Regions from separate parts of the Homo sapiens genome. Here regions 2, 3, 4, 5, 6 and 7 are each linked to region 1. The links are contacts of gene promoters, found by promoter capture Hi-C in blood cells and fetal thymus (Javierre and others, 2016). All regions are on one chromosome and are shown on one strand. Each heading gives the region's core, a stretch centred on a gene start or on the middle of the fragment in contact. The rest is flanking DNA. Distances are from core to core; before and after follow the strand shown. Region 1 holds the start of FSD2 (fibronectin type III and SPRY domain containing 2). Region 2 overlaps CPEB1 (cytoplasmic polyadenylation element binding protein 1). Region 3 overlaps BTBD1 (BTB domain containing 1). Region 4 overlaps BTBD1 (BTB domain containing 1). Region 5 overlaps CPEB1 (cytoplasmic polyadenylation element binding protein 1). Region 6 overlaps C15orf40 (chromosome 15 open reading frame 40). Region 7 overlaps CPEB1 (cytoplasmic polyadenylation element binding protein 1).

Evidence for each region. The method cuts DNA at HindIII sites, captures the fragments that hold promoters and counts their contacts. A CHiCAGO score of 5 or more calls a contact.
Region 2: a contact is called between a fragment that was not itself captured here and the fragment with the promoter of FSD2 in region 1, in 9 of 17 cell types (total CD8 T cells, non-activated CD4 T cells, naive CD8 T cells and 6 more). The highest score is 8.0, in total CD8 T cells.
Region 3: a contact is called between a fragment that was not itself captured here and the fragment with the promoter of FSD2 in region 1, in 9 of 17 cell types (naive CD8 T cells, total CD8 T cells, non-activated CD4 T cells and 6 more). The highest score is 8.7, in naive CD8 T cells.
Region 4: a fragment that was not itself captured here is called in contact with the fragment with the promoter of FSD2 in region 1 in 10 of 17 cell types (total B cells, naive B cells, total CD8 T cells and 7 more); the score reaches 11.6 in total B cells.
Region 5: a fragment that was not itself captured here is called in contact with the fragment with the promoter of FSD2 in region 1 in 5 of 17 cell types (naive CD8 T cells, total CD8 T cells, naive B cells and 2 more); the score reaches 6.8 in naive CD8 T cells.
Region 6: a contact is called between a fragment that was not itself captured here and the fragment with the promoter of FSD2 in region 1, in 16 of 17 cell types (total B cells, naive B cells, naive CD8 T cells and 13 more). The highest score is 26.0, in total B cells.
Region 7: a contact is called between a fragment that was not itself captured here and the fragment with the promoter of FSD2 in region 1, in 1 of 17 cell types (naive CD8 T cells). The highest score is 6.9, in naive CD8 T cells.

The regions. Positions count from the first base shown.
Region 1 is chr15:82,804,470-82,807,922 of GRCh38, forward strand. It overlaps FSD2 (fibronectin type III and SPRY domain containing 2), which reads right to left and starts at 1,600. Exons shown (of 13, transcript NM_001007122.4): 1 at 1,497-1,600. RefSeq lists an enhancer at 1,884-1,983. The HindIII fragment of the contact is 1,284 bases long and covers 934-2,217 here.
Region 2 is chr15:82,562,432-82,565,884 of GRCh38, forward strand. All of the region lies in intron 4 of CPEB1 (cytoplasmic polyadenylation element binding protein 1), which reads right to left. Among named protein-coding and RNA genes, the nearest start is that of RPS17, 24 kb to the left of the region's middle. The HindIII fragment of the contact is 4,848 bases long and covers 1-3,453 here.
Region 3 is chr15:83,050,864-83,054,316 of GRCh38, forward strand. All of the region lies in intron 2 of BTBD1 (BTB domain containing 1), which reads right to left. All of the region lies in intron 1 of LOC124903542 (a long non-coding RNA gene), which reads left to right. Among named protein-coding and RNA genes, the nearest start is that of BTBD1, 15 kb to the right of the region's middle. The HindIII fragment of the contact is 3,032 bases long and covers 119-3,150 here.
Region 4 is chr15:83,025,001-83,028,453 of GRCh38, forward strand. All of the region lies in intron 5 of BTBD1 (BTB domain containing 1), which reads right to left. The region is part of intron 1 of LOC124903542 (a long non-coding RNA gene); the gene reads left to right. Among named protein-coding and RNA genes, the nearest start is that of C15orf40, 15 kb to the left of the region's middle. The HindIII fragment of the contact is 7,754 bases long and covers 1-3,453 here.
Region 5 is chr15:82,581,294-82,584,746 of GRCh38, forward strand. The region is part of intron 3 of CPEB1 (cytoplasmic polyadenylation element binding protein 1); the gene reads right to left. Among named protein-coding and RNA genes, the nearest start is that of RPS17, 43 kb to the left of the region's middle. The HindIII fragment of the contact is 1,149 bases long and covers 1,127-2,275 here.
Region 6 is chr15:83,006,175-83,009,627 of GRCh38, forward strand. It overlaps C15orf40 (chromosome 15 open reading frame 40), which reads right to left. Exons shown (of 4, transcript NM_144597.3): 3 at 2,374-2,501. Among named protein-coding and RNA genes, the nearest start is that of C15orf40, 3.7 kb to the right of the region's middle. The HindIII fragment of the contact is 4,494 bases long and covers 1-3,453 here.
Region 7 is chr15:82,612,146-82,615,598 of GRCh38, forward strand. The region is part of intron 3 of CPEB1 (cytoplasmic polyadenylation element binding protein 1); the gene reads right to left. Among named protein-coding and RNA genes, the nearest start is that of CPEB1, 33 kb to the right of the region's middle. The HindIII fragment of the contact is 1,893 bases long and covers 978-2,870 here.

The sequences.
Region 1 (3,453 bases), core at 350-2,849:
CTGTATTTAGCCCTGTGCTTGAATCCAAGCTTTTCACCTGACACACAACCAGTCAGGTGAAGAGCTTGGATTCAAACCCAGGTTTCCATTAAATCACACCATCTACAGACAGAGGAGCAGTTCACTAAAATAATGCTTACATTCCCATGTGCTACCCAAAGGGAAATAGCCAGGATTCTGTATGACCAATAAATCATCATGAGAAATTATTTCAACCAGAAGCTGGAATGTGAAACACCAAGTTGAACTGTCAGAAGACTGGAAAACACTTAGTGCAAATACAGATAAGAACACATGCTTTCAAGCTGGCACTTGCCCTTCGAACACACAACACAAAGTGGTCTCAACACAAACTGGCTCAGTGTCAAAGTAGGAATTTTGCAACACACCCTACAGTTAACAGTCACTTTTCCCCTCAACACCTAGACTCTTTCTTAACAAAATCAGGATTTGGGGAGAAAGGAAAGTTGACAATAAACTGTCATTTTATAAATGGTGAAACTAAAGCTTAGAGAAGTAAAGCAATTAGTCATAGTCCATTATGAATGTCTTTGCTGGATACCCTTTCCTCTATGCCAAGGGAAGCAGTTAAAAAAAATAAAAAAGATGTTTGTCTAAGGCTTATATGGGAGGTGTATCCCTGTGCATTACTTAGAAAAGTCCCCCAATAATTTTTTTTTTTTTTTTTTTTTAGAGACAGGTTCTTGCTATGTTGCCCAGACTGGTCTTGAACTCCTGGGCTCATGCAATCTGCCACCTCACTTGGCTTGTTTATTAACCTTTTATGGATCATGGGCATATCTACTGAATCTACTGAAACCTGTGAATTCTCTTCCCAGAAGTGATTCCATAAGGGCAGGAACATAACTTTGCCTATAATTTTAGCTCTTCCATGCAGCCCTTGGCAATTCCTGAGCCACAGCAGTGAAAGAAAGCTTGCCTTAAAGTGTTACAGTGATATGAAATGATTCAAATCAGCTTTGCAGACACTGCCCGAACCTGAAAACTTTCTATAGGAGGAGGCTGTATGCATAACAAGTGAAAAATAATTACGATGCTGTTTTTTAGTATTTGAATCAATGCATGAAGTTATTATTTTTCAGCATGTACACACAGATTAAATAAAATGTATTTACAACACAATAGTATAGCCAGATGATATTCAACATCTATATTTCCAAACTGTTCTACCAAATGGTTCTAACTAATGGGTCCCAGCACTACAGATATCCTAAAGACACATTATAAGAATCACCAGCCCCTGTCTGCCTTCATCAGAGCCTCTCACATCCTGTCCCAACATCATGTTCAGTTAATGCGAATTCTTGCTTTAAGAAGGCACAGAAAACATTTACACTATTTATTGTAATTTAAACATCTGCAATTTACCATGATATCTCTTCCCACCTACAGGAAAGATATTGCATTAATATTGCAGCATTGAGTTTCTAATAATACAATTTGCATTGGAAGAATATGACTACCCCAAAACTTGCCTGCTAAGCGTCCATAAATGCTTCCTTTAACTCAGAGGACCTGGAGTTCTGCTAGAAAATTGAATCTGTGTTCAGCAGGCTTTCCTTCCTAGTGACCTCTGCATGCCCCACAGGCTACCCCTGCCTATTTTACACCAGAGTTCTGCAAGTGGGGCACCAAAGCTGGATGGTAACATGAGCTGGCTGCAGCCACAAATAGCAACAGGCCTGCCATGAGTGAAGGTCCAAATATAGACCTGCTGTGGCTGAGTTGCCACTTCTTACTACTCAAGTGTCACCAGGAGAGGTCACATGCCGTGCTCTGAGTTACTTTCTGTGCTGTGAGGGGTTTTAGACTTGTGGCTCTACCATGGGTCTCAGATGGCTGGTCATGTGGAGAGGGCTGGGGACTGTCACGGCAAGACCAGGAAGAAGATTCCTTTTTTTTTTTTTTAAGTGAATGAGTTTCTAAAATTATATGCAAAATTATGTCTGTGTCCTTATAGAATCACTTCCGGGAAGAGAACTCACAGGTTTCAATAGATTCTCAGAGGTGCTCATGAACCATACAAGGTTAAAAAACATTTTGGGGGCACTTTTCTAATCAAAGCACAGGACACACTTCCCATATAAGCCTTAAGCAAACATTATTATTTTTTTTTTTTACTTGCCATGGTATGGCATAGAAATGGGACTATCCAGCCAATACATTCCTTATGGACTATGATTGACTATTTCTCTAAGCTTTAGTTTAATAATTTATAAAATGACAATTTAGTGTTAATGTTCTTTTCTTCCAAAATTCTGACTCTGTTAAGAAGTTGAAAGAGTCTAGGTGTTGAGGAAAAAAGTGAGTGTTAACTGTGGGTGTGTTGCAAAATTCCTACTTTGATGCTGAGCCCACAGACCAGCATAACAGTATAATCTCTCTCTCCTCTCTCTCTCTCACATGCACGCACGCACACACACACACACACACACACAGTGTAATAGTCAGAGTTGTCCAGAGAAACAGAACCAATAGAATGTATACATATATGGAAACAGATTTATCATAAGGAATTGACTCATGTAATTATGAAGACCAAAAAGTCCCAAGATCTGCAGTTAGTAAGCGGAAGATCCAGGAGAGCCAATGGTGTGGTTCTAGTCCAAAGGCCAGCAGGCTCAAGACCCTGGAGAGCCAATGTTTCCATTTGAGTTGGAAGGCAGGAAAAAAACCCATATTCCCACTTGAAGGCAGTTAGGCAGGAAGAATTCCCTCTTATTCAAGCTTTTGTTCTATTCAGACCTTCAATCGATTGGATGAGGCCCACTCACATGAGGGAGGGCAACCAGTTTTACTCAGTCTACTAACTCAAAGGTTAATCTCATCCAGAAACACCATCACACACACACACCCAGAATAATGTCTGACTAAACACCTGGTGACCCAATCAAGTTGACACATTAAAATTAACCATCATACATATATATACATATGCTATAGACAGTTTATATTCCCCTAAAATTCCCATGTTGAAACCAAATCCCCAATGTGATGGTATTTGGAAATGTGGCCTTTGGGAGGTGATTAGGTCATGAAGGCAAGCCCTCATGAATAAAATTAGTGCCATTACATTGGGGGTCCCAGAGAGCTCTTCCATGTGAAGATGCAGTAAGAATACAGGTATCTACGAACCAAGAAGCAGCCCTTCCTTACCAGACACTGAATCTGCTGGTGCTTTAATCTTGGACTTTCCAGCCTCCAGAACCATGAGAAATAAATGTTTGTTGTTTACAAGCCACCCACTCAATGGTATTCTGTTATAGCAGCCTGAATGGACTAAGACATATATTAATATATAGAGAGAGGATAATTTTATTTTTTCTTTTCTTTTTTTTTTGAGGCAGAGTCTCACTGTTTCGCCCAGGCTGGAATGCTGTGGTGCAATCTCGGCTCACTGTAACCTCTGCCTCCTGGATTCAAGCAATTCTG
Region 2 (3,453 bases), core at 683-3,182, 240 kb before region 1:
AGTTTTAGAAGCACTGATCCATACAAACCCGAGGCTTGCTACTTCAAATTCCTAATCAATTGCCTTATCATACCCAAACATCTTTCATATATAATTATTTCCTCTGACTTAAAGACTGGAGGTTATGGCCAAGTGCAGTGGTTCACGCCTGTAATACCAGTACCTTGGGGGACTGAGGCAGGAGGACTGCTTGAGACCAGGAGTTCAAGACCACCCTGGACAACATAGTAAGGCCTGTCTCTAAAAAAAATAAATCAGCCAGGCATTATGGCATGCACTGATAGTCCCAGTTACTCAGGAGGCTGAGGCAGGAGGATCACTTGAGCCTAAGAGGTTGAGGCTGCAGTGGGCCATGATCGTGCCACTGCACTCCAGACTGGGCAACAGGGCAAAATCCTGTCTCAAAAAAAAAAAAAAGACTGGAGGTTATAATTTAAATACAGTTCTCACACTAAAATGGTAAATACTTAAGAGAAAAAAAAGGCATCAGATAAAGAAATCAACAAGGCTATATAGGACATTTACTTAAGAGTTCCTTCTCTCTGAAAACACTGGGTGGGAGTGGAGGACAACACAGAGAGGCAAGACAGACACAGTAACCATGAACAAATAAGAATATAAAAAAAGAATGGTAAGGATTATCATAGTTTCAGGAAAAGTGATGGCTAGAACAAGCTGATCACTGTGAAAAACATTCAAGACAACCCAAGGGACTTTGTAAGCTCACACGGAGCAAAACCAAAAGGAGCAAGGGCCTACTTAGAGCAGAAAGAGAAAAATGTTATTAAGGATTTAAGGACATTACTGGGTCACTTGACAAAACTGGAATATGAATGACAGTTTAATCAAAGTAGTGTTATCAACTTTAAATTGACTAAAGTTAACTGTTTTGTTACATATGAATGTATGTAAGATCATCTCTATTCTTTTTTTTTTTTTTTTTTTTTTTTGAGCAAGGGTCTCCCTCTGTAACCCAGGCTAGAGCGCAGGTGCACAATTACAGCTCACTGCAGTCTCAACCTCCCACTTCAGCCTCCAAAGTAGCTAGCGGCATGCCACCATGTCTGACTAATTTTTTTTTTTTTTTTTTGGTAGAGGCAGGATCTCACTCTGTTGCCCAGGCTGGTCTTGAACTCCTGGGCTCAAGCAATCCTCCTGCCTCAGCCTCCCAAAGTACTCAGGTCACAGGTGTGAGCCTCCGTGCCTGGGCCAATTATCTCTCCTCTTAATGATTCAGAAAACAATTATGTATTGATACATGGAGAGAGAATGTGCAAATGATAAAGCAAATGGGGTAAAATGAACACGAACAATAGGAGGTTCTGGATAAAAAGGATTACAAATATTCTTTGTATAATTTTATTTGTATAACTTCTATAAATTTGAAATTATTTCCATTTTTTTTTAATGACAGGAAGAAAAACAAGTCAATTCCCATTTGGCTTTCTTTGCCTCTTTCAAGGTAACTTATCTAATCAGCAGAGGGAAATCAAGCACAAGTAATAGGAACTAGGATCCCAGAGGATAAGACAGTAATTGAGTACTTTTGGAGTCTCTATTAGAAGAAATAATCTTTTAAACATGCTTTTTAAAGTCTCAAAAAAATCTGCATAGATATTTGCAGGCCCACATGTGTAAAAAGTTGTGCCTTCTCAACCAAGCATACCAAGACCAATCTTTACCATCCTACTCCAATAGCAATTAGCTCAACATCTGGCAAAAAGCAGGTGAACAATGACTGCTGAATTCTACTGAAAGACAGAGAGTACGTATTCCATAGAGCCAGTACGCTAAGGCCCTACCCTTTTCTATCAAGGATATTCAATTTAAGGACACAATGGTTTTTTTTGTTTTTTTGTTTTGTTTTTTTTTGAGACGGAGTCTCGCTCTGTTGCCCAGGCTGGAGTGCGGTGGCGTGATCTCAGCTCACTGCAAGCTCTGCCTCCCGGGTTCACGCCATTCTCCTGCCTCAGCCTCCCGAGTAGCTGGGACTACAGGCACCTGCCACCACACCCGGCTAATTTTGTGTGTGTGTGTGTTTTTAGCAGAGATGGGGTTTCACCGTGTTAGCCAGGATGGTCTTGATCTCCTGACCTTGTGATCCACCCGCCTCAGCCTCCCAAAGGGCTGGAATTACAGGCGTGAGCCACTGCGCCCAGCCTAAGGACACAATGTTGACTTAGAGTGTAATACAGATTTAGGGGAATAAACCTTAACTCATCCCTACCCAGCCCATCGCCAAAACAGAGGTTTAAAAACCAGTGACTCACCGCATCACATCTGCGACAATACTTCTTCCCTGAGTCTCAATTTCTTCAAAGAGAAAAAGGTTGAAGAAAGCTCCTCTGCTTGAGGAGGGGCAGGGTGGAAATCACTCTGTCCTAATCAACCCTCCCCAGACTCTACTGGGATCTTCAGGGCCACTGCAATACACTCCTACATTCAAGTACAGGAGCAAGAAAGAGTGTCTCACTGAATTATATACCAACCACATAGAAAAACGGGGAAAGGACTTGGATTGATGGCTCAGAAAGGGGCAATGCCATCCTAGAGAATAGGATCAGGGTGCCCCAGAATTAACACGTGGGATGTCAGCATCTCCATGCATCAGTTTCCTGCAAATATTAAATCAGAAGGGATATACTGTAAATTTGACTAGAAGATACCAAGAAGACAAGAGGCCTAGAACTTGCCAGCTGGTTTGATATTTCCTTCAACCCACAGAACAAGTGAATTTTGTGGAAACTGCCACCCATGGTCAGATGCCCTAGAGTGACCTAATTGTACCTCTATAGGGTCTGGCCAGGCAGTTCTCTGAGTGTCTACAGATCAAAGGAAGGAAAGCAGCAAAGACAATGGAAAGAAAGCAGCAAAGCAGCAAAGACAAAGGGAAGTGGGGGGACCTCATTTCAAGAAAGAAAACCTGTCTTGCTCCCAGCTCATGAGACCATACCTGCCCTATGTAAGGTTGCTGAGTACGCAGCACCGATTTCCACCAGCTGGGAATCAGAAGGAAAGGAGCAAAATAGCTAGCGTTAGACTGTTCCCATTTATATTCAAAGCCACGAGCATACCTAACTGGAAAGGCATTCTCTTTAAGCCACACAAACTAAAATCCAGTGGAAATGACAGGTCCCTTATAATGCAGGCCAGTGTCTCATCTCAAAGTCCACTCCCCATCATGGGGCACACAACTTCATAATTCCAAATGTCAAGTATTAACCTAGATGGATTAGAGGAGGGGGAGGGGTGGTGAGAAGTCCTAGAGTCAATCTCCAATAACGGCCAAGGCCCTGACCTCTTTGCTCTGTTCTTTCCTGGCCTCCAGAACACAAGGGATCATGGAAAGTCTGAGGTTTACCAAGTGCCTCCAGCTCTGGTGTCCAAGTGTCCAGCAAATTCCTATCTTCTAAAAATGGGTAAGACATTGTGCTCTTCCTAGAACAGACGTAC
Region 3 (3,453 bases), core at 385-2,884, 250 kb after region 1:
ATATAAATGAACCACACAAACCTAATGATGAGCAAAAAAGCCAGAATATATAATGAGCAAGAATATGTACTGTAGAATTCCAGAAGAACTAATTTTGGCTTTAAGATGTTAGAAGTCAAGCTTACAATATGTGCTTTATCAATACATATGTTATAACCCTCCCCCACAAAAAAAAAAAAAACAGTTTATAAGCAGGGGGAGTCCAAGTTAAACTCAAGCAAGATTTTTAAAAAGCTGAAACACTGAAAAAGGAGGTATGATGATAGGCATGCCAATGACCAACCTTTCATTCTGGCCTGGGGTTAGTTCTCTTCACATTTTAGAGGATGGGCAAACACTAAATGCCCAAAGGTATTATGTTGGCTTGGGCAGAAACTTTCTGAGAATACTGCCAATTAGTTAACCATATCATAAATGACACTAATTATTTGGCATGATGATGACTCTTCATTTAATTTTAAAGTAAAATTCATTTTAAAGTATTCAATAATTCAGATACTACTGAACAACTGATAAATATCTAAACAATTATCATGTGTTTTATGGGGGAGAAAAGAAAACATTAAACACACTGGCTTTAAATTTTTTAAATTTAAGTATATTTTAAAAATTATATATATATATATTTTAAGTTTAAAACATTTACATATAACATAAAATATGTATAGAATACTCGAATGTTTGAAAATGCACTTCCTAGATTATACACTGAGCCTGTTTACAATAATTTGCTTTGTCAAATTTTAAATAAATTTTAGCACTAAATAAAAAATTTGTATTAATAAATATTAAATCTATCTCATGCAATTTTCCCTCAAACTATTTTTCATTTGGAATTTCCTTATTTTTTTTTAACTGCACCTTTTTTGTTTAGACACACAAATACTTTGGAATTTCAAATTTATAGAAAAGTTGAAAAGATAGTGCAATGAAAACCCATATACCCTTTATCCAGATTTATCTAAATATTATTTAACATTTTGCCTCATTTATTAATTTTTTTTCCATATATATACACACACACACACACACACACACACATCTATCTGGGAGGAGAGACTAAACTATTTGAGAGTAAGTTGCACACATCATGGCCTTTTACTCTCTTTTTTAGTGACAAGGTCTCACTGTCACCTAGGCTGGAGTGCAGTGGCACAATCTCGGCTTACTGCAACCTCTACCTCCCAGGTTCAAGGGATTCACCTGCCTCAGCCTCCTGAGTAGCTGGGACCACAGGCGCCTGCCACCACACCCACCTAATCTTTGAATTTTTAATAGAGACAGGGTTTCGCCATGTTGGCCAGGCTGGTCTCCAACTCCTGACCTCAAGCGATCCACCTGCCCAAAGTGTTGGGATTACAAGCATGGGCCACCGTGCTTGGTTTTTGTATTTTTTAATAGAGACAAGGTTTCACCATGTTGTGCAGGCTGGTCTCCAACTTCTGGGCTCAAGCAATCCACCCACCTCGGCCTCCCAAAGTGCTGGGATTTTTGGTGTGAGCCATCAGGTTTGAAGGGCTTTTACTCTTAAATTTCCTAAGATTAAGGATATTCTCTTACATAATCATAGTAATTAATTTTGATAAATTTAACATCAATACAATATCTTTACCTAATCCACTGGCTGTATTTCAGTTTTGTCACTTGCCCCAACGTTTTTTAATAACATTTTTCCTTCTACTACGGCATCTAGTCTAGGATCACAGTTATACATTTTCAAGTTATGAAGTAGTACATTTTTATAAAGTGAAATTCTAATATCAACAGATTTTTTTTTTTTTTTTTGAGATGGAGTCTCGCTCTGTCGCCCAGGCTGGAGTGCAGTGGCGTGATCTCGGCTCATTGCAAGCTCTGCCTCCCGGGTTCACACCATTCTACTGCCTCAGCCTCCCGAGTAGCTGGGACTACAGGCGCCCACCACCTCGCCCGGCTAATTTTTTTTTTTTTTTTTTTTTTTTAGTAGAGACGGGGTTTCACTGTGTTAGCCAGGATGGTCTCGATCTCCTGACCCCGTGATCTGCCCACCTTCGCCTTCCAAAGTGCTGGGAGGTGTGAGCCACCACTCCCAGCCTCAAAAGACATTTTAATTGGCCAACTCAACTATATTTTTAGTTGGTGTTCATATAAAAATTGATCTTTCACTCTAGGAAAAACAATTTTCTATAAAAATTATCTTATTCAGGGTAGCAAATGTCTGTCACTCCTTACACAGGCAATATCAAATTTCCTATGGAATCTACTGCTGCTATTTAGGGTAAAATAAATTTTCTCAAAACGGACTTTGACTTTGGCATTCTCTTTGATAACACTTCATAAAAAGTGTTTTTCCCTCTATAAATCATGCTGGTACAGTATACTGGCACTTTGCTTTAGAGAGAAGCTGGCAAAGGCCCTCTTAAGTAAATGAACATGCTCAGTTCAAATGACTCACTTAGCAGGAACAAGAAGTTTCACATGACAATTTATGGGCTAATTCACATGACCCCACCAGTGAAAAATGTAATACTGGAATCTCAGACCAATAAGATACTGAAAAGTTTTTTTTTTCTCATAGTGACACCTGTTAATCCTTGCTACCCAACATGTACTCCAGAAACACTGGTGTCATCTGAATGCCTGTTAGAAATGTACTCTGAGGCCCTATTCTGGTCCTACTGAACCAGTATCTGCATTTTAATTGCCAAAGTTTAGTTTATTGGTTTCTGAATTTATATCTCACCTTTAAAATAAAAGTAGTTAAGTGATCGTCTCTACATGCATTAAAACTCCTTGGACAATAAAGAATCTTATGAATATCAACTTATTTATTAGATTTTAATGACAAATTCAAAAGAGGAAAAAATACGGAGATATCACTTATTAGTTATATGACTTTGGTCAAGTTACTTCACCTCTCTGTGCCTCAATTTCCTTACTTAAAAATGGTGATAATAAGAAAACCTTTACTTTGAAAACCTACACCTCATAAAGTTATTGTGAGGATTAAATGAATTAATGTACACAAAGTGCTGAGAAAGGTGCCTGGCATACAATCAGCTCCCAGTACATTCTGCTATTATCAGTATCACTAAACCTTCACAACTATCGATTTTAGGTGAGACCTTAGTTTTACCCACTGCTGTCTAGTGTAATAAGACGTTAACTTCTGTAAGCTTCCATTTTTCATCTTTAAAAAGAGAATAAGGAGATAATAGGCGAGGCACGGTGGCTCACGCCTATAATCCCACCACTTTGGGAGGCCAAGGCAGGTGGATCACTTGAGGTCAGGAGTTTGAGACCAGCTTGGCCAACATGGGGAAACCCCGTTCCTACCAAAATAAAAAAATTAGCCAGGCGTGGTGGTACGCACTGGTAATCCCAGCTACTCGGGTGGCTGAGGCAGGAGAATCACTTGAACCCAAGAGGTGGAGGTTGCAGTGAGCCGAACTGCACCACTGCACTCCAGGCTGGGCA
Region 4 (3,453 bases), core at 659-3,158, 220 kb after region 1:
TTGTCATCTGTATTACTCTTATTAAAAGAGAAACATATACTCTTCCAAATTAACTGTTAAGAATTTTGCCAGCCGGGTGTGGTTGCTCACACCTGTAATCCCAGTACTTTGAGAGGCTGGAGGTGGGCAGATCACCTGAGGTCAGGAGTTCATGACCAGCCTGACCAACATGGTGAAACCCAGTCTCTATTAAAAATACAAAAACTAGCCAGGCATGGTGGCAGACGCCTGTAATCCCAGCTACTCGGGAGGCTGAGGCAGGGAGAATAATTACTTGAACTCAGGAGGCGGAGGTTGCAGTGAGCCCAGATCTCACCATTGCACTCCAGCCTGGGCAACAAAACAAGACTCCATCACAAAAAAAAAAAAAAAAAAAAAAAGAATTTTGCCAAGCCATTCTCCACTACCTTAAAATAGTATGTGACTTCTGAAAGAAATTCTCTAACATACATAGGTTAATTTGGAAGACACTGTCCTTATTAAAGTCTGATTCTACTCAAACTTTTCCAGTTCTTCATAAAGCTAATGTACTTTATAGTTCTTACTGGGTTTAATCCTACTACTTAATATTATGTTACTGTTATGAATGGGATTATTCACAATACTACAGTAATATTCAACATATATAGTGATATATAAAATTACTACAATACAGTAACATATTGTAATAGTAACATAATACTCAAAATATTTAATGATATTTACTCAATTATAACTAAATTCTTTTACATTATAATTTTTTTGTGGTAAAGTTATGTACCATTTTAACCATTTTTTCTTTTTTTTTGAGATGGAGTCTCACTCTGTCACCCAGCCTGGAGTGCAGTGGCGTGGTCTTGGCTCACTGCCAGCTCCGCCTCCCGGGTTCACGCAATTCTCCTGTCTCAGCCTCCCGAGTAGCTGGGACTACAGGTGCCCACCACCACGCCCGGCTAATTTTTTGTATTCTTAGTAGAGACGGGGTTTCACCGTGTTAGCCAGGATGGTCTCGATCTCTTGACCTTGTGATCCGCCCGCCTCAGCCTCCCAAAGTGCTGGGATTACAGGCATGAGCCACCACGCCTGGCCCATTTTAACCATTTTTAAGTGTACAGTTCAATGGCACTAAATACATTCATATCATTGTACAACTGTCACCATTATTCATCTCTGTAACTGAATTTTGATGACATACAGGAACACCAATGGTTTTTAAATATACTTTTTATAAGTGGCCACTATTCTCTTTTATTGGTTCTAGTAGTTTTTTAGCTTGATACTGAGGTTACCTAGGTGGACCAGTTGTTCTCAAAACGAGTTCCACCCCCAAGGAGGCATACTCGATTTCACAAAGGTTTAGGGGGGCACTACTGGCAAGGAACTAGGGAAACTGGATTTCCTGAAATGCACAGAACAGTCTCCCATAACTCAATCAACTTTTAAGTGTCTTGCCAGAATTCATGTAGGTAAAAAATCTGTTTATAACTACAAGCCTTGAACCTCATTCCATTTTGTTTATAAACCAGATTTTTTAGTGCTTTTTTTTTTTTTTTTTTTTTTGAGACGGAGTTTTGCTCTTGTTGCCCAGGCTGGAGTGCAATGGTGCAATATTGGCTCACCACAACCTCCACCTCCCAGGTTCAAGCAATTCTCCTGCCTCAGCCTCCCAAGTAGCTGGTATTACAGGCATGTGCCCCCACACCTGGCTAATTTTGTATTTTTAGTAGAGACGGGGTTTCTCCATGTTGGTCAGACTGGTCTCGAGCTCCCGACCTGAGGTGATCCGCCCGCCTCGGCCTCCCAAAGTGTGGGGATTACAGGCATGAGCCACTGTGCCCAGCCTTTTAGTGCAATTTTAATATTCAGACTTTTACAAGAGGCAACTACCATATAAACAGAAGGAATATACAGTCAATTCTCATTATCTGTGGAAGTTATATTTAATATACAGAATTAGCAAATACTAAACCACTGCTCCTAGGGGAAATACGTGTGTGTGTGTGTGTGTGTGTGTATGTATGTATGTCTACATATACACACATATACACGCCTCGCATAGATTATAATCTTAAGTCCTAAAAACAATTCATCCAGCCAGGCGTGGTGGGTCACACCTGTAACCCAGCACTTTGGGAGGCCAATGCTGGTGAATCACCTGAGGTCAGGAGTTCGGGACCAGCCTGGCCAACATGGTGAAACCCCGTCTCTATTAAAAATACAAAATTAGCCAGGTGTGGTGGCACATGCCTGTAATCCCAGCTACCTGGGAGCCTGAGGCAGGAGAATCGCTTGAACCTGGGAGGTGGACGTTGCAGTGAGCCGGGATCGCACCACTGCACTCCAGCCTGGGCAACAAGAGCGAAACTCTATCTCAAAACAAACAAACAAACACCTCGTCCTAGTATATTCTATTTTCTTTATTCCACAAAAGAGAAAACAGAGTTTGGAAGTGTTAAGTGACTTGTCTGAGGCTGCCCCACTAAGAGGTGCCAGAGCTGGCCTTCAAGCCCCATTCAACCTGCCCAAGAGCCAGAGTTTCTTGCACTCCACTGCACTGCCCCTCCCCTTCTCCACCTCTGTAGGAGAGCTGAACCAGGAAAGTAGAGCCTTGCCTTGTTCAGCCACAGCTGGAAACGTGCTGGTCTGGCAACTAAAGTCTTTGCTGAAAACGATTAAGAAAGTGCCCCGAATATTGACTTTACAGGTTACAGATAAATTTCAGCCAGTAGGCAAGTTCAGAAATAGACACTATGAGTAGGACCAACTATATATACTCTTTTACCTGGAACCTTTAAAGAAAACGTAAGTGGCAGCAATGCTGCTCATGATATTTAAGACATAACACGCCTGTACTGTGCAGCTGAAACTGTCTCATCATGGTGATGCATATATGTACAGCAACTAACTACTTCAGTTTGCCTTCCAGTGTTGTCCTGCCCAAAGTCTATGTATTGAACTACATATTTTACTATCAATTACATTTATTCCCCTTTATATTATAACTAGATCACTTATCAATTAAAAAATGTATAAAGCATATTATCTATGAATTTTATTTCAGGTTAGTAAAGTGGGAATTACAAAATATTTATTAAAAAAAGAGAGAACTGGGTTTGATAGAGTTGTGAACTACTAATGTACATAATGCCATTAGCAAATAATCAATCAGAATTATAATAACACTGCTTTAAACAGCAAGGATATCTCTATCTTGAGGTTTCAATAGTTTATCATGTCAAACAAGTATTCTTCTAGGCCTAATCTAGTAAGAATTATATCTGGAAGGAAGGTGAAATTTTATCAAAAGCCTTTCTGACATCTATTGAAATTAAATTGTTTTTCTTCTTTGATCTGTTGTGAGAATTATACTAATACATTTCCTAACACTGAGCCATTCTTTCAATCTCCAAATAAACTCTGTTTGGTCATACAGTGTTATTCTTCGAAGGTACAGATTCAATATCCTAATGTTTT
Region 5 (3,453 bases), core at 451-2,950, 220 kb before region 1:
TAATTTTGCATCGTACACAACATTTTGTTCATCCATCCAATTCATCCACTGATGGACACCTGGGTTGTTTCCTGTTTCTACCTTTTGACTATTGTAAATAGTACTGTTATGAACACTAGCATACAAATATGTGTTCAAGTCCTCGCTTTCAATTCTTTTGTGTGTATACCTAGAAGGAGAATTGCTGGATCATATGGTAACACTATGTTTAATTTTTTTTGGAAGCACCACACTCTTTTCCCCAGCAGCAGTACCATTTTACATTCCCACCAGCAATGCACAAATGTTCTAATTTCTCCATATCCTTGCCGACAATTTACATTTTAATAATGGCCATCCTAACAAGTGTAAACTGGTATCTCATTGCGGTGTACATTTTTTTTAAAAATTAGGTTGTACCCAAATGTTTGAAGATTGCTGTTGCCTAATTCATGAATCCCCAATGTTTTTAAAAATCTCCCCGACACCAGGTTTTTGTTGAATTGCTTTTGTTGAATTGCCATCCAAGTGGTCCTAAAGACAATGGCATCTTCTTGCAGCATTCTACCTCACTGGTTACAGTGATGGTCCCATAGGTAAGTATCTGACTCAAGCTGGGCAAGAATTACCCATTCCCATGACTACAGAGACCAGTCCAGGTATGGGTATGACTTAAGCCAAGCTAGCTGGGTATCTTTCCTTGAGATTTTTCTAACTGTATATAATGGAAAAAGAACTATTTCCTGATTGTCCATGATGCCAAAGGATGTGAGCATATACCCTTTCTCATAACTGGCAACTCTGCAAAAGGAGATAATGAAACTCACACTGGGAAATGAGCAGAGGAAAGACAGAAATAGACAAAATTGGAGGCCACAGATTCAGTATCCCTAGCTTTCCAGTGATTCCTTCCTATTCTATGAGCTTTGTATCAACAGCGTTCCAACATACCCCACATTTTACTAAAGTAAGTTCTAATTTGGTGTTTGATTTTTTACAAACGGGAGTGTTCTGCGTAATTCAGGCCCTTTAGCAAGGATAGACCAAACAAGTAACTACTGCATGCAGGATAAAAATCTCTGGGACAAAAGCCCTTAATATCCTGGCACCAGCTAAGAAAGTCAGCCACAAAAGAAAGCAGGAAAGAAGCTTAAAGACCACCTTGTCAAATTCCTCGCCATCCCGTCTTTTTTTACTAGAAAGCACACAAGGCTCAGAGATGGCCATAAGCGACAAAGCTACTAAAAGGCAGAAGATCCAAATCTCGATTTGTTGGTCTCAAATACAGGGACTAACTGATCCCCTGACCTCTCTCCCACAATGGGACACTTTCTAGACCCAGGTCTACACTCATACATAATAACCCTACTCAGACCTGTTTTATCATTAAGTTAGCAAAGGATCCCTTTTCTGCACTCAGGTCCCCATACTGTGTACTAAACCTATCCCATCATACTAGGAGTTCTTTTTTTTTTTTTTTTTTTTTTGAGACACAGTCTCACTCTGTTGCCCCGGCTGGAGTGCAGTGGCGTGATCTGGACTCACCGCAAGCTCCGCCTCCCGGGTTCACGCCATTCTCCTGCCTCAGCCTCCCTGAGTAGCTCGGACAACAGACACTGGCCACCACGACAGCTAATTTTTTGTATTTTTAGTAGAGATGGGGTTTCATCATGTTAACCAGGATGGTCTTGATCTCCTGACCTTGTGATCCGCCCGCCTCAGCCTCCCAAAGTGCTGTAGGAGTTTAATTCTTAACACTAACTCCCTCACCCTCCCCACTACTCTCTCCACAATCTGCTACTTATTCAGCAGAAAGTCAATTTCACATTCGGGTGTTTCTAAGATTTCGCTGCTATGTGCATATATTATTTTCAAAGGCGATAATTTTACTTCTTACCCATGGAGAGCAAAAAAGACGACTGCTGATTCAAGGCTAGCATCATCCAATCTACTGCTTATGGTATGGGGGAGTTCTGAAGCACGCCATCCTGAAGACTCTGGTTCAGAGTCCTTGAATACAACATGCCATCTAGGTTGTAGGTAACAACTAGTTTTAGTAAAACTAGTATAACCAAAACACAATGAAACATTACTTTACCTGACACTACACTGTTCAAATTGGGGTCTGCAGAAGTTCCTTAAACAGTACATCAAATTGGAGACCCTTTACAGTGCCAATCACGACTGCATCTACATAATATAAAAGCCAGTTATTTAAAACAGGAAGGCAGGGTATTTCCATATAGAGGGTAAATTGGTACAACATTCTGGAGAGCAATCTGACAAAAACATTGAAAGCTTCAAAAGATTTATTCTTTGATAAAGAAATACTACTTTTAGAAATTTATCCTATGTCCAAATAATCACAGATGCAGGCAAAAGCTTTAACTTCAGGTACTTCTTATAAGTGTATAAAATAGGCACCTATTTAAACAAACTCCAAAATACGAAAACTGAATGCCAGAGGTTAACCTTTTTTGTATCATGAACCATTTGGCAGTCTGCTAAAACCAATAAACCTTCTAAGAAAAATGTTTCAAAACATATAAAATAGTAATAATATTGAAATAGTAAATAAATGTCAAGGTATGTACAATGCCTGTAAAGGAATCAATATGAATTGTCTGATCATCCTATTGATACCAAATTATTAGGTCCTGCTAATATTGTGACTTGTTGCCTAAACTTACAGTTAAAAGAAATGCAGCTGGGCTTGGTGGCTCACACCTGTAATCCCAGCACTTTGGGAGGTCGAGGCAGGTGGATCACAAGGTCAGGAGACAGAAACCATCCTGGCTAACAATGTGAAACCCAGTCTCTATTAAAAATACAAAAAATTAGCCAGGCATGGCGGTGGGCGCCTGCAGTCCCAGCTACTCAGGAAGCTGAGGCAGGAGAATGGCATGAACCCGGCAGGCAGAGCTTGCAGTGAGTGGAGATCGCACCACTGCACTCCAGCCTGGGTGACACAGCGAGACTCCGTCTCAAAAAAAAAAAAAAAAAAAAAAAAAGCTACGTTTCAGTTAAACATCACTGAACGTGAAGATACAAGTTTTTACCTGTCTAAATTATTGGACCCCCTGAATTCTATCCATGTACCCAGGTTAAGAATCCCATAATGCAGGCTGGGTGCGGTGGCTCACACCTGTAATCCCAGCACTTTGGGAGGCAAAGGTAGGTGGATCACTTGAGGTCAGGAGTTCAAGACCAGCCTGGCCAACATGGTGAAACCCCATCTCTACTAAAAATACAAAAATTAGCCAGGCGTGGTGGTGGGCACCTGTAATCTCAGCTACTCTAGAGGCTGAGGCAGGAGAATCGCTTGAACCTGGGAGGAGGAGGTTACAGTGAGCCAAGATCACGCCACTGCACTCCAGCCTGGGCAAGACAGAGCGAGACTCCATCAAAAAAAAAAAAAAAAAAATCCCATAATGCATCTATCTACACAGTAAAATGCTATGTAGCCTTGAAAAG
Region 6 (3,453 bases), core at 484-2,983, 200 kb after region 1:
GAGCTGAGATCGCGCCACTGCACTCCAGCCTGGGCAACAGAGCAAGACTCCATCTCAAAAAAAAAAAAAATCTAAAAAATGATATTCTAGTCTCAAGCAATTAAGTTAAAAATGAAAATCATCTTTAAAATACCAAAATAAATATTGCAATTTTATATAAACTTTGTAGTAAAATAATTATAAATATAAACAAATTGCTATTCTCTATGTTGTTAAACATTTCTGAAAATTCCAAACAAAAAGTAGCCACATATCCAAGTGCCACGATTTCACAACCACTTAAAACTTTAAAAAGGATTTGTTGGCCAGGTGTGGTGGCTCACACCTGTAATCCTAGCACTCTGGGAGGCTGAGGCGGGTGGATCACCTGAGGTCAGGAGTTCGAGACCAGCCTGGCCAATGTGGCAAAACCCTGTCTCTACTAAAAATTAGCCAGACGTGTTGGCGCGCGCCTCCAATCCCAGCTACTCGGGAGGCTGAAGCAGGAGAATCACTTGAACCGGGGAGGGGCGGGGCGCGGGGCGGATGTTGCAGTGAGCCGAGATTGCGCCATCGCACCCTAGCCTGGGCAACAAGAGCGAAAACACCGTCCCAAAAGAAAAAGAAAGGATTTGTTTTCAAACACAGCCTTTAAAGAAGATAAAATTTGAGAAGGGGTTTATTTAGATGAGTGGAATTTGAACAGGCAGAAGAATGAGGAACATCTTTCAGGCAAACGTCAGCGCATGAGCACTAGCCAAAAATCAGAAATGACCTGCCACAGGTGGGGAGCATTCAAATGGATTTTTAGGTGCAGTCTGTTAATCAATGACTGTGAATGCCAGCTGGAACCTGGATAGGAGCTATATAGTATAGCACTGGAAAACAAGCAGAGCTTTAAGAAATATAAACATGGCTGGGCCCCCCTCCTGCAGATTCTATTTCAAGAAGCCTAGAGTGATACCCAGGGATCTGTATTTAGAAATCATTCCCAGGTGACTTTGATCTCCACCCCTAGTGCAAAACCATATTAATGACATCATATGAACCTTCTATCTTCCCAATGAGCTTCTCCTAGCAAGCAAGGACAAAGTACTTGACGGAGTCCCTCATGGAGATGACTAACAATAGGAATTGCTTTAGATTGTTTAGCGTGGTGATGACTTAAAGGATGAGAGAGCTAAGCAAGATTAATCTGACAGCAGGTTCAGGAATGAATTCAGAAAGGAGAAAACACTGGCAACAGCGGCAGTGAAGAAGCATAGGCACACAGTGTGGATAGTCTCAGTAAGGATTAAGGCAGCAGGCATGAAGGAGACTAAATAGGAAGAATTGACAGATTTATGCAATTAAGTAAATATAAAAGTTATAAACAACTAGTTTCCCAATTATTTGAAAAAGACAAAGAAAAATCAGTATTTTATGAATCATCATTAATATGTAATAATCAAACATGGCTGGGCATGGTGGTTCACGTTTGTAATCCCAGCACTTTGGGAGGCTGAGGTGGGCAGATCAGTTGAGGTCAGGAGTTCAAGACCAGCCTGGCCAACATGATGAAACCCCGTCTCTACTAAAAATACAAAAATTAGCTGGGTGTGGTGGTGGGCACCTGTAATCCCAGCTACTTGGGAGGCCTGAGGCTGAAGAATCACTTGAACCTGGGAGGCAGAGGTTGCAGTGAGCCAAGATCACGCCACTGCATTCCAGCCTGGGCAACAGAGCAAGACTCCATCTCAAAAAAGAAATAAAATAAGGCCAGGCGCAGTGGCTCACGCCTGTAATCCCAGCACTTTGGGAGGCCGGGGTGGGTGAATCACCTGAGGTCAGGCGTTCAAGACCAGCCTGTCCAACATGGTGAAACCCTGTCTCTACTACAAATACAAAAATTAGGTGGGCCTGGTGGTGGGTGCCTGTAATCCCAACTACTCAGGAGGCTGAGGCAGGAGAATCGCTTGAATCCAGGAGTGAGAGGTAGCAGTGCGTCAAGATTGCACCACTGCACTCCAGGCTGGACAACAGAGCGAGACTCCGTCTCAAAAAAAAAAAGAAAATAATTAAAGAAGTTTAAAAAGAGAGAGACCTCCGGGCATGGTGGCTCATACCTCTAATCCCAGCGCTTCGGGAGGAGAAGGCAGGTGGATCATTTGAGGTCAGGAGTTCAAGACCAGCCTGACCAACATGGTGAAACTCCGTCTCTATTAAAAATACAAAAATTAGCCAGGCATGGTGGCATGCGCCTATAATCCCAGCTACTCAGGAAGCTGAGGCAGGAGAATAGCTTGAACCCAGGAGGTGGAGGTTGCAGTGAGCCAAGACTACGCCACTGCACTCCAGCTTGGGCGACAGAGCAAGATTTTGTCTCAAAAAAAAAAAAAAGAGAGCGAGACCTACCTTATCCAAAACCACATCACTCTTCCTGAGTTCTAGGACCTTGGAAAGATACCGACAGAGCTCAGCATTAGCCTCTCCCTCTGATGGAGGTGCTGCAATAGCTACATTTACAGCCTCTGCTGTCAAATCTGGAATGAAAATAGTGTGGACTTTATCCTTAAGGAGTTCTTTTTCTTCATGAAGCAAGGACATTTTGTAAAAGAGTTTTTGCATTTGCCTGGCACACAGATTTTCAATTAAAAACTGTTGAATGAAGAAATGAATGATTAAACTAATCACATTTAAGGAACATGAACATGATAAAAATGGCCCTACCATTACAGGAAATAAATCCAGAGAAGAAAAGTTATTGACCCAATCTTGCCGACCAAGATGGGCTTACAGAGCCCTGGGGAATATCCTGGATTTAGGCAACTGGAAATTGCCCTTGGTATGTGAAGAGCCCCAGGCAGGGAGTCATAGATGGCCTTCAGCCTCATCAATGTCACTGAAGAAGTGTATGGACAGGGCAGCTTACTAGATTGTACAAGGTTGTGCAGGGTTTCCTCAACAGGAAAATGAGAGCCCCGGACTAGGTTCACCTCTTATGTGACACATATCTTGAGTGTTTTTAAAATTTAATAATGTTTACTTAACAAATATTTACAGAGCACTTACTATACACCAATTTTAAGCACACACAAATGTGTTAAAGGCTTTACAAATACTAACTTCTTTAATCCTTATAATAACTTTATGAAGATATTAGTACCATTATTATCTCCATTTTACAAATGAGCCATGGCATCCAGCCTCCCATTTTAGATCTAATGAAACATAATACTCCAACGTAGACAGTGTCCACACCCACTACTTAGAAAATGCTGGCCAAGGAGGGTATGGCTAAGTTAACTTGGTCATCAGCATAAACCAGGTCTAGCACGTCAATGTTGTGGTTTTCCTTTCAAAATCTAAAAATGGTTTGAAATACAGAGCTTTAGAGGTGAAAAAGACCTTCAAAAGAATTTAGAGCAATGGTTTTTGAACTTTTTTTCCTTTAGAATCCCTTCCCCCAATTTTCTCCAGAATCCCAATATGTAA
Region 7 (3,453 bases), core at 674-3,173, 190 kb before region 1:
TTAAATGAAACAGAGAAATTCCTAGAAAAACACAACTTAGCAAAACTTAGAAGACGGAATAGAAATTTGAGCCAGGTGCGGTGGCTCATGCCTATAATCCCAGCACTTTGGAAAGCTGAGGCGGGTGGATTGCCTGAGGTCAGGAGTTCGAGACCAGCCTGCCTAACATGGTGAAACCCCATCTCTACTAAAAATACAAAAATTAGCCAGCCATGGTGGAGCACCCCTGTAGTCCCAGCTACTTGGGAGGCTGAGGCAGGAGAATCGCTTGAGCCCGGGAGGCAGAGGTTGTAGTGAGCTGAGATCACACTATTGCATTCCAGCCTGGGTAACAGAGCGAGAGTCTGTCCAAAAAAAAAAAAACAAAAAAAAAAACACAGAAATTTGAATAATTGTATTTTAAAAACTGGGTCAGGCAAGGTGGCTCACACCTGTAATCCCAGCACTTTGGGAGTCCAAGGCGGGTGGGTCATGAGGTCAGAAGTTCAAGATCAGCCTGGCCAAGATGGTGAAACCCCATCTCTATTAAAAATACAAAAATTAGCTGGGCAGGTGGCAGGCGCCTGTAATCCCAGCTACTCAGGAGGCTGAGGCAGGAGAATCGCTTGAACCTGGGGGGCGGAGGTTGCAGTAAGCCAAGACTGCACCACTGCACTCCAGCCTGGGCAACATAGTGAGACTCTGTCTCAAAAAAAAGAACAAACAAACAAACAAACAAACAAAACAAACAAACAAAAAACTGAATCCACATTTTAAAAACTGTTCCTCAAAAAAACAAAAACAAACAAAAACACACTCCAGGCCCAAGTGGCTTCAGCAATGAATTATATCAAAATTTAAGGAAGACTATTATAAATTTCACACAAGCTCTTCTCAAGAACAGCGAGGAAAAAAAAAAACTTTTCAAGAAGCTAATGATTTGCTTCAAGAAGCTAACGACTCTGACACCAGGGATATTTTAAGGAAAGAAAATTACAAGCTTATCTCTTATGTGCATGAATACAAAAATCCTGAAGACAACATTTACAAATGAAATCCAAACAATATACTAAATAAAATATATTATGAACAACTTGAGTTAATTCCAGGAATGCGAAGTTGGCTTTACTTTGGTATTCTTTCCTGAATGTTATTCCTACATCTATAGAATAAAGGAGAAAGGTTAAATGAATAGATGCAGAAAAGCTGATATAATTTAATAACATTCATGATTTTATGTTTGTTTTCTTGGGGGTTTTTTTGTTTTGTTTTGTTTTTTTGGAGACAGTGTCTGGCTGTGTCACCCAGGCTGGAGTGCAGCGGCACGATCTTGGCTCACTGCAATCTCCACCTCCTGAGCTCAAGCGATCCTCCCACCTCAGCCCCAAGTAACTGGGACTACAGGTACGTGCCACCACACCCGGCTTTTCATACTTTTGTACAGATGGGGTTTCACTACATTGCCCAGGCTGGTCTCTAACCACCTCAACCTCCCCAAGTGCTGGGATTATAGACATGAGCCACTGCATCCTGCAGATTTTCTTTTTTTAAAAGCCTCTTGGCAAAGTCTGAAAAGAACTTTCTTAATCAGATAAAAAACATTCACAACTTCAGCATATTTAAAGGAGAAATGCTAAGAAGTTCACTCACAACCCCTCCCCTAAGACTGGAAACAAGCTCCCCCCGGGGAGAGAGACACTCACCCTGGATGGGAGCCTGGAACTCTACCACCCCGCCCCGCTCCCCCCTCAATGCCCCCCTGGGACAGCCCGGGAGGCTGCCAGGAAGGGACTGGCCTCCTTGGGAGGCTCCCAGGATCCTCTTCAGCCTCGCTGCTTCTGAGTCCCTGCCGGCAAGCCTCCGCCAAGCAGTGGCCTTGCTGATGCCTGGGGAAGCCCACCGGGAGAGAGACACACACCCTGGGTGGGACCCTGGGGCTCTAAGACTCCCTACCCTGGGACGGCCCCAGGGGCTGCTGGAAAGGGACTGGCCTCCTCGGGAGGCTCCCAGCGTCCTCTTCGTCACTCCTAACCACATAAAAATATGGGTCTTGCTCCCAGGCTGGAGTGCAGCAGCATTATCACAGCTCACTGAAGCCTCGAACTCCTGGGCTCAAGTGACCCTCTCACCTTAACCTCCCAAAGTGCTGGGATTACAGGCACGAGCCACTGCACCCAGCTGTAATATTCTATTTCTTGACCTGGGTAGTGGTTATGTGGGTGTCTGCTGTATAACTGATTAAAATATACAGGTGTTTTATGCAAGTTTCCATATATTCTATGTTTAACAATTTGGAAAAGTCCATCAAACTAGTCCAAGAATTAAACAAAACACAATGATAATCTAAGTAATCACTAAAAATTACTGAAGTCTAAATAAATACTGATTGTGAACACATACATACACACAAAACTGCAAGTAAATTCCTAGATATTATCAGTACCAAATGTGGGGGGGAGTACAATTTGAACACAAAATGAGGGCCTTTTTCAGCTTAGGCACCCAGTTTGAGAGAATGTATTCATTAAGCAATTGTATAATGTTACCTAACATGCACCAGGCCCAATACTGAGGATTAGAAATCCAAGGATTTCAAAAGATCTTTAAAAAAAAGAAAGAAAGAAACGAAACGAAACCCAAGGATATTTAAGACCTAGTCCTTACACATTCTTCAAGAGACTTACAGTATAAACAGAAAACCTAGTTCAACTCTTTAAAATATAAGTGTGTGTGTGTGTGTGTGTGTGTGTGTGTGTATATATATATATGACCTCAGCCAACGCTCTCACAACTGCATCTTTATATACCCACACTATCACAATCACTATCACCATTTAGTAAGTGCAGTTATGTGCATCATTGTAGATAGTATTCAATACAAATCTTATTTAAGCTTCACAAAACCCCTACAAATGGGTACTATTTCTACCTATGTGTCTAAAGAGGAAATTTAAACTCAGAGTGTAAGCCAAGGTCACAGCAAGTAAGTAGCACGACCAGAATTTGTTCTCAGGTCATCTGCATTCAGAGCCTGTACCCTATCTTTGTTTGGGTTTATTATGAAACGGACAATGTTTTTTCAAAACTGTACCCTATCCTCCCATTTTAAGAATGTATATGTTTACACCACCACATGATGGATCCACAAATAAACACGAAGAGCCAAGAAGGACCTTGCTTCATCTCACAGATTGACAGACTACAGAACATTGGAGGCAGGACAGTGTTATAAAGTTTCTGAAGTGACAACCAAGCCAACTTTGAATAAAATAATTTTTTCTAGGAAGACAGTCAATTTAGTTGTCAACTATGTAGCAGAAGAGCATTCATTGCACAACTTCATCTGTCAGTGATTTTAATTATATAATATGCATGGAATGTCAAGAAACAGCAGACAGAATGGCATAAAGGGAAAGAACCCTGGGACACAATTCTAGAAACTTACTCTGGGTTGATGCCAGATCATATATGCTA